2 separate regions of the Homo sapiens genome follow, and region 2 is linked to region 1. The links are contacts of gene promoters, found by promoter capture Hi-C in blood cells and fetal thymus (Javierre and others, 2016). All regions are on one chromosome and are shown on one strand. Each heading gives the region's core, a stretch centred on a gene start or on the middle of the fragment in contact. The rest is flanking DNA. Distances are from core to core; before and after follow the strand shown. Region 1 holds the start of TEX26-AS1 (TEX26 antisense RNA 1). Region 2 holds the start of LINC00544 (long intergenic non-protein coding RNA 544).

Region 1 (3,804 bases), core at 639-3,138:
TACATTTTTGTTGTTTGAATCCACCAGTCTGTGGGAACACATAGCAGCCACAGGAAACTAATACAACACCTGAGAGCCCCATCTGTAGTAATTATTCAATAACAGTTAGTCATCAGTCACCATCAACCTCATCCTATTTCGGACCAAACCTGGGCAGTGGGGACACATCAAGCCTACCATTTGGAGGGTGACTCTCCCAGCAGTGGGGAATGAAGTGGCACAGAGTAGCCATTAGAGGCCCAAGCCTGGAGGTAAAGGGGCGAATTCACCTGGGGGAAAAAGAGCTTTGGAGGCAGAATCAAAGAGACCTGGTGATCAAACTGCAGTCTCAAGGAAGCTGCCTTCCCTTCTAAATTGAGCAGCTAGGACCCTCTTAACTGAACTCTCAAAGTCTGGAAGGTTTGAGGAGGACAAGGAGTGTGATTTTGCACATGTCAAGTTGGAGGCCCTGCTGTGACACCCACATGGAACTGTCTGGTAGACAGTTAGATATTCTGGTCTGAAAAAGTAGGAAGAAAGTCCAAGTCAGAGATAAAGGTTAGAGAGTTGTTGGCACCTTTATGCAGCACTTGAAGCCCTGTGCAGGATATGGTCACAAAGAGAAGGTAAGCCTAGAAGGATCAATCCTGGGGGACTCCAACAGTTCCCAGACAAGAAGGGGATGAAATGGGGAGACAGTGGGAAAACAGGGTGGTTAGAAAGGGAAGAGAAGCATCCAAAGGGGTGCTGTCGGGATGCTAGGAGGGGATCCTCCCTCCTCTGTCTCTCCTGTTTGCCTTCCCATCATATAGAAACTGAGTGTATTAGATATTTTCTGCACTAATTAAGTATTTTCATTTTCCATTCTTAATTTACAACGGAATGAATTGGAATGAAAATATGCATTTCATTCACTCTTTTGGGAGCACAATTCTAGGGAATTTGTACTTGAACAATCCTTCACTGCTCCATAGCCACTGTGGAATCACAGTTACCCAACTATACAGCAGCAATGGCCAATTATTGCCACAAGAGACTATGATGGAGCTGACTACACGGTAATCATGCCACTAGCGTCACAGCTAGAGTGGTTCTCCCTCCACAGACCCAAAAGGCTGAACTGGTGAACCTGCTGCATCTGTGGGCAGAATTAGGATGAAAAGCACTACCTCTGTGAAATACAAAATCTCTGTGGAAGAAAAATCAATTCAGGTTAGAGGCGGCAGCTGAAGGCCATGGCTCCCAGCCTGGTGCGACAGCCCAGGGAGGGCGTCTGCCTCTGCAGACACAGCTGGGACTCCATTCAGCAGCCAACCCTTCCCCCACTTTCCTTGCTGTTTCCAAGATCCTATATGGGGATCGGGACTCAGGCAGGACCTGTTCTCTTCAGAGCTTCCAGGACTTCTCTTTCTTCTTTGCCTTTGGCCCTGTTTTCCTTGGAAAATCACCAGTTCTTCCTTTTTTCCTGTCCCCTCTTAGCCAGGCACTTCCTCGAGTGTTTAAAAACCCTGCGCGTTTTAGGGAGCGGGGATTTGGCAAAGGTTATGCGAAGGACTGAAAAGGGGCAGCGTCATGAAGGCCCTGTCATTCTCCCTGACTCCCCGTCTTTTCCTCAGTTGAGCATACTCCTAAGAGCGATGCCACACCCTTAAATACTAAGGCCCCTTTTTCTCAACAGGACCCTTTCCCCGGGAAAGACCCCAGCCCCGCCCCGCAGACCGGCAGAGTCTGCTGTCTTACTTGGCTGGAGGTTGTGGTGGCAGAGAGAGGGATCCGGAGCCCTGGGCCCAGGCTGTTCCATTCTGCCCCAGGAGGCGGCCGCGGGGCCCTGGCTCCAGCTATCTCAGCGCTTGCGGGAGCCGCGGGCTGCTTTGTGACGCGTCGCCATGGAGACAAGGATCGGGTTCCAGGGAGTTCTGCCCCTGCCAAGGGGTGCTGGCCACGCAGGAGGCTTAACCTGGCCGGCGCGGGAATGGGGTGCAGAGAGCAAAGAAATGTGGCTTTGATCTTATGGATGCCTTACTTTTACATTATTTGTACAGTTCTTGCAGTGAGCTTTCCGGACCACTGTCTTGTATGTTTCCTAAGAAAAGCAAAAAGGGAAGAGATTGAAGAGAAAGTAGATTTTCAACTACAAACTTTCATCCATTTGCTTTCAGCTTAAGCAAATGTGCGCAAAGTTGTCATGGATTTTTGCAGTCAATAAAAACCAAGCAAGAAGACTGAATCCCAAGTCATCTGGTATAAATGGAAGCAGTTTCTGTGATAGTTCCACGCGGTCAGAAGGGTCATCCTGGCTTAGGAGAGGGGCAGAAGAGGAAATGCACGCGTGGAAACAGGAGTGGGCAGGGAGGATGTGACACTGTCCTCCTCACCAGGCCACGTTCCTGGCACCAACCATAGTGTTTGTGAGGGTCAATTTAATTGTTCTTGTGCTCTCATAGAGGAAGCTGTGTCTTTCATCCCCTTGTAAGAGTTTTCACTGATGAAGGGGGTCTTTTATCTTCATATCTTGGGAACTACTGAAACTGTTTCAAAGAGTCAAAGACACCAATAACTAACAGAAATTCTTGTTTTCAGGGGCAGATAAGAAAAGAAACAATTTGCTGAAACTCCCTCTGCTTATAACAAAACTGACTGAAATCAGCCGGAATCAATATGGCCAAATGCAGTTTGCGCACAGCAAGCTTGCTGATGTCACAGCCTGAATTTCTACTGCATGTTTCATACCAACTCCCTCCAAATTTGCACATGGGACCCACCAGGAAGCATGAAGAGAGAGCCATGCATGCCTGAAGACTTCCCAGATGTTCCCTTTGCTTCCACCAATCACCTGCTAACCCCAGGATCCAACCCTAAACCTTTTGTAATAAAATTACTGCCCTAAAGCCAGTACAAGACAGATTTGAACTGGACTTTTGTTTCCTCAGAAGTTAACTTGCAATGTGAAGCTTTCCTTTTCTCAAAAACTTGGTGTCATAGTGTTGGCTTCTAGTGCAGTGAGCCCCTTTTGCTGGATAACCTTACCTGGTAATTTGACATACTAGGTGGTTAGTAACTACTGACTGTCTCCAGGTTACAACACAGTTATTACCCACTTGGGTGAAAAGAGAAGACAGGAAATACATTTTGGAGTTGGCTGGCAACCTGTTTACAAAGCAATTTACAACAGTTCCTTATTCTTAAGGGGCTATTCTAATACAAGACCTCAGAGAAACAGTGCAGTGTGACAAAGGAGGAATTTATCAAAGGAGACAGAAAAAGCATCAAGGTAAGGATCCCAAATATATGTGCAAGGAATGTCTTTAAAATGAAGAGCTAAACTAGAATTTCCTGAAGGTAGAGTTCTATCCATATAATGGAATGAATATAACACATTATAAACTCTCATGTTTTGAAGCAATGGAGGGTGGAACACATTAGAAGGCATAGATGTTATTAAAAGGAATGAGTCTAAATTAGGATTTAGTAGTGGCATCTAAATTTAAAAAGTAGCACCCAATAACAGATTACTGTCTGGAAATGGTAGAGCTAATTAGCATAGCATAATTTAAGAGAAATATATGTTTAAAATAGAGCAGCAAGTATATAGAATTTTGAAAGTGAATTCTTATTAATATCTTACAATTTGTCTCATTTTAGGCAAGCTGTGAAATGGTGCGGTAGGAACCAAATAGAGAGCCAAAGGATCTTTCTGTCACTGCAGGCCCTTAGGGGTAAGCAAATCCTTCCCTGATCCCTGGTCTCCTTATCTGTAAATGAGAATACCAGCACCCACCTCACTGTGCTGTAAACATGATGAGTTCTAACAATAATTTATAAATT
Region 2 (3,756 bases), core at 295-2,794, 1.0 Mb after region 1:
GACTGTTTGCATGATGCAGTTCTCACTTAAGGAGGTGAAGCATCAAACTCCCTGGCCCCACCCACCTGCCTCTGCATCTGGGCAGCTGAAGGTAAGGGCACTCAGCAGCCCCGATGTAATGCCACATCCCAGTGTGCTCAGGAGGAAGCCACCAATCTTTGTTCTCTGCCTAAGGAAAGAAAAACAGCTAAAACAAAGCATTCTAGGACTGACCTTTGGTACAATGTTGGAAATATGAAAGAAATATAAATGTAACATTTTAAATTTCTGAAACGAGGAATAATTATCAATTTCATATACACAAAGTAAGCCCAGTAGGCAGGCCTACTAGAGCAGTGGTCTCCAAATTTTTTGGCATTAGGGACGGGTTTCATGGAAGACAATTTTTCCACAGATGGGGTCCGGGGGATGATTTTGGAATGAAACTGTTTTGCCTCATCCTCAGGCATTAGATTCTCATAAGAAGCACCCAACCTAGAGCCCTCACTTGCGCAATTCACAATAGAGTTCACGCTTCTATGAGACTCTTATGCTACCGGCTGATCCGACAGGAGGCAGAGCTCACGTGGTAACGCTCACTTGCCCACCGCTCACCCCCGGTTGTGTGGCCCGGTTCCTAACAGGCCACAGACTGGGACTGGGACCTGCCCGAGGCTGTGGGGTTGGGGATCCCTGTGCTAGAGGCTCTCAGAAGCATTCTCCATCTCCAGATAATATTCTGTCCCTCCACATGTGAAGGAGACACAGAGCTTTCCTGATGGAGCCTGGCAGGTCTGTCTGTCTTTATACACACCCATTGTATAGAGAAGTATTCTGGATCCAGGGTATATCATGATCATTGTCAATTTTCAGAACATCTCCTGGGCTGGTGAACTGTGGTTAGATAATAAAGAGTTGCTGGTGAAATGCCTCAGGGTGTGGTTAGAAAAAAGAAAGAAAAACAAGTGGTAATATAGGGTGCGGGGGGAGGTATGGGGAGGCTGGGTAACTGTGATTTTTAACTCAAGAAGGAAAAAGGGAGAGGAGAAAAAATGAAGACTCTATAGCTCATCTAGAGTGAGCCAAATTGGATCCCAAACACTAACACTTAATGCACTAAAAACTGTATAATTCAAACATCTCTCAACACAGAAGATGGGTACCACGTGTGTAACAAAACATAATTGAGCTGAGGTGAATCCCTGTCCTTAAAAGAGGTTTATAAGCTAATAGTGGTGATGAAGGTGAGGAAGACTCTTAGTTCCACTCAGAAAGTGAGAGGATCTGAATACTCCAGAAAAGGAAAAAGATAAGAGGAGAGATGAAATGAGATTGGCAAATTGTTGATGATTGTTGAAACTGAGCAATGAGTATTGAAAGGCAGGGATCATTACCTGACTCTTCTATCCAGGAGGCCGTTAGTGGACCAGGAAGTCAGGACAAGATCTGAGGTGAAGAGCTGGTGAGGAGTGAGACAGCTGCCAAGGTCCACCTTGTTCCCCTAAGGAGCTGAGCTCTTTCTCTTCCTTCCTTTTAGACAGGTTCATTAAAGCTGGCCCACTCCACATGACCTAGAAGGACTGGGTCAACCCTGAAAGGTTTGCTCCATAGCCCAGAATGACAACCTCTGACATCACAAATGCAGGATTGGAGAAGGCATAGTTGGCATGCAAGCCGTATTGATTTTTTTACAAATCAGAGCTTCATGCTTGCTGCTGAGAACATTTCACCGGGCCACGAAGCTGCTGCAGGAAGTTTTCAAGTCCTCTCCTCTACACCGTGACCTTAACTTAGAGAGCACTCTCAGCCCCTCCTCCCATCCCCCCGCACCTGCCCAGGTGGGCCCCACTGCTCTCCACACCCACACCCACCTGGTCGTTGCTCTCTACCGAGGAGGCTCTCCCTGCTTTGCTGTGCTTTTGTCAACTTTCCTGCAGCTTCCCTGTTCTGGGAGGCTGAGCTAGAGTGGAAACGACCAGCTTCCCCAAACAGGCAGCTCCGAGAAGGCGTCTGCTCCGCGTCTGCTCCCACTGAGCCAAGGTCCAGCCCAAACGCTCAAATTAGAGCTTGTTAGCCAATTGCTGAAAAACTGCAGGGGGACTCATTTGTAAGCAAACTAATGAGACATCCCAGGATAGAAAGCCTGGTTTTATTTTTAGCATTTCAGAGCTGACACCCCAAACACCTCTATAACCACCTGCCAGTCTGAAGAGGGAACAAGCAGAGCTCAGGATGTGGTGCCGTGCGAGGGCGGTAAGTGGAAGGAAGCAGCGCATGGGGAGGGTGCCTTGGAGACCAGAGGAGCACAGCAAGGGGAGGATGCTCAGCTCTCACACCTGCTCTGTCTTGGTCATAATGAAAAAACAGCTCTGACACAGGGAGTGTGTCAGAACACCACAGTACCCTCTGGGACTGTGTGGGAAAACAAAAAACAAAAACCAAAACAAGGGAGACTCCTTCCCTCTTAACCTCAAATGGTCCCTCTTAACTCCAGACCCTTGAGCGTCTTGCTCCGCCACTGCATGGGGCAGGTGCAATGTACTCTGTGATCTGTGATCTCCTTGCTATATTCCTGGCAGGGGCTCTGCTACTGTGGGCTTTCACAGCATGACTCCAGCCTTGCTGCACTCAGGCCTCACTGTCACCAAGTGGGCTGGGGCTGCCCACCAGGGGGGCATGCAGGGCCTTTCCCTCTCCCCATGCCCTGGTCTCAGGTACACTGCTGCTGCATGCCAGCTCTTTTCTGCTGCATCCTATGCAGCCACTGGGCCACTTGCTCCTCCCAGGCAAATGCTGAAGAGACACTCTGCTCTTCAGCAGATTGGTGCACACCTATATTTAGCCACATTGTGGAATATAGTGACAATGATACTTTGTACTCAGGAGACACCTTTTATCAGAGGAGTGTGATGCACTCTGCAAACATCATCAGCACGGCACCCTTGGGGAGGAAAGACTGTGCCAAGTCTTCCAATCCCCAGGCTTACAGCTAGAGAGATTGAAGCCAGGGAGGCGGGGTGTCACCAGAATCTCCTAATGAGTCAGGAGGCCTGAACGGAGTGATGAGGTGCTCCTGGAAGGTTTTCATCACACCTGCCTCTTTCTGAGCCTGCAGAGCCTATAGTTCCCCCTAGAGCTGGTCCTCTCTCCCTCCCTGGCACAAAAGTGTTCCTTTGCTCACACAGCTGTCCCTGTGCCTGGACACACTTGTAACTTGACTTTAAAAGCCATCTGCCAGCTCACTAGAAACACAGACATGCTGTCTGTGCTGGGGCTTACATTTGCATCACCGCGGTACCTCGATGCTCAGGACAGATATTTCTACTCAAATCTATACCTTGCCTGAATGGAGCTATGAGGGTGTGACCCAGAGGAAGTGCTGTGAAACTCTGCATAAAGAGATTAGTTCAGATGCCCTCTCTTTTATGACACAGGGTAACCAATCAGATACTCCACTTCCCAGAAGTGGCTGGACACAGACTGCCCTGTAGTAGAGAGACAAAGCAGTGGGATGAGTGGGTCCTACGTAGGGATCCTCAGGGATTCCTTGGGCACAAGCAGGATCTCTCTTCTCAGAAAGAGCCAACAATACCATATGTTAGAAGCTCAAAACCAACTGTATTCTTTTCATTCTGTTATCACTGATAATTACTAGCATGCCTTTGTAGCAGATGCAACGGATGTGGCAACATTTCTCATGCCTTAGCAAGGCCGAAATGGCAAAAAGCAATGCTAACCAAAGGGTCTTTGGATAGAGAGTGTTCTGTGTAGGGGTAG

The links. Contacts are between HindIII fragments. The CHiCAGO score rates a contact against its expected background, and 5 or more counts as called.
Region 2: the fragment with the promoter of LINC00544 here is called in contact with the fragment with the promoter of TEX26-AS1 in region 1 in 4 of 17 cell types (fetal thymus, monocytes, M2 macrophages and 1 more); the score reaches 9.1 in fetal thymus.

What each region holds. Positions count from the first base shown.
Region 1 is chr13:30,930,692-30,934,495 of GRCh38, reverse strand. It overlaps TEX26-AS1 (TEX26 antisense RNA 1), which reads left to right and starts at 1,888. Exons shown (of 4, transcript NR_038287.1): 1 at 1,888-3,250; 2 at 3,622-3,695. TEX26 (testis expressed 26) reads right to left here and starts at 1,840. Exons shown (of 7, transcript NM_152325.3): 1 at 1,720-1,840. The coding sequence starts at 1,780. The HindIII fragment of the contact is 4,425 bases long and covers 1-2,668 here.
Region 2 is chr13:29,934,319-29,938,074 of GRCh38, reverse strand. LINC00544 (long intergenic non-protein coding RNA 544) reads right to left here and starts at 1,544. Exons shown (of 5, transcript NR_033889.1): 1 at 1,374-1,544; 2 at 794-873; 3 at 66-169. RefSeq lists enhancers at 2,111-2,230, 2,361-2,480, 3,201-3,260. The HindIII fragment of the contact is 6,836 bases long and covers 1-3,756 here.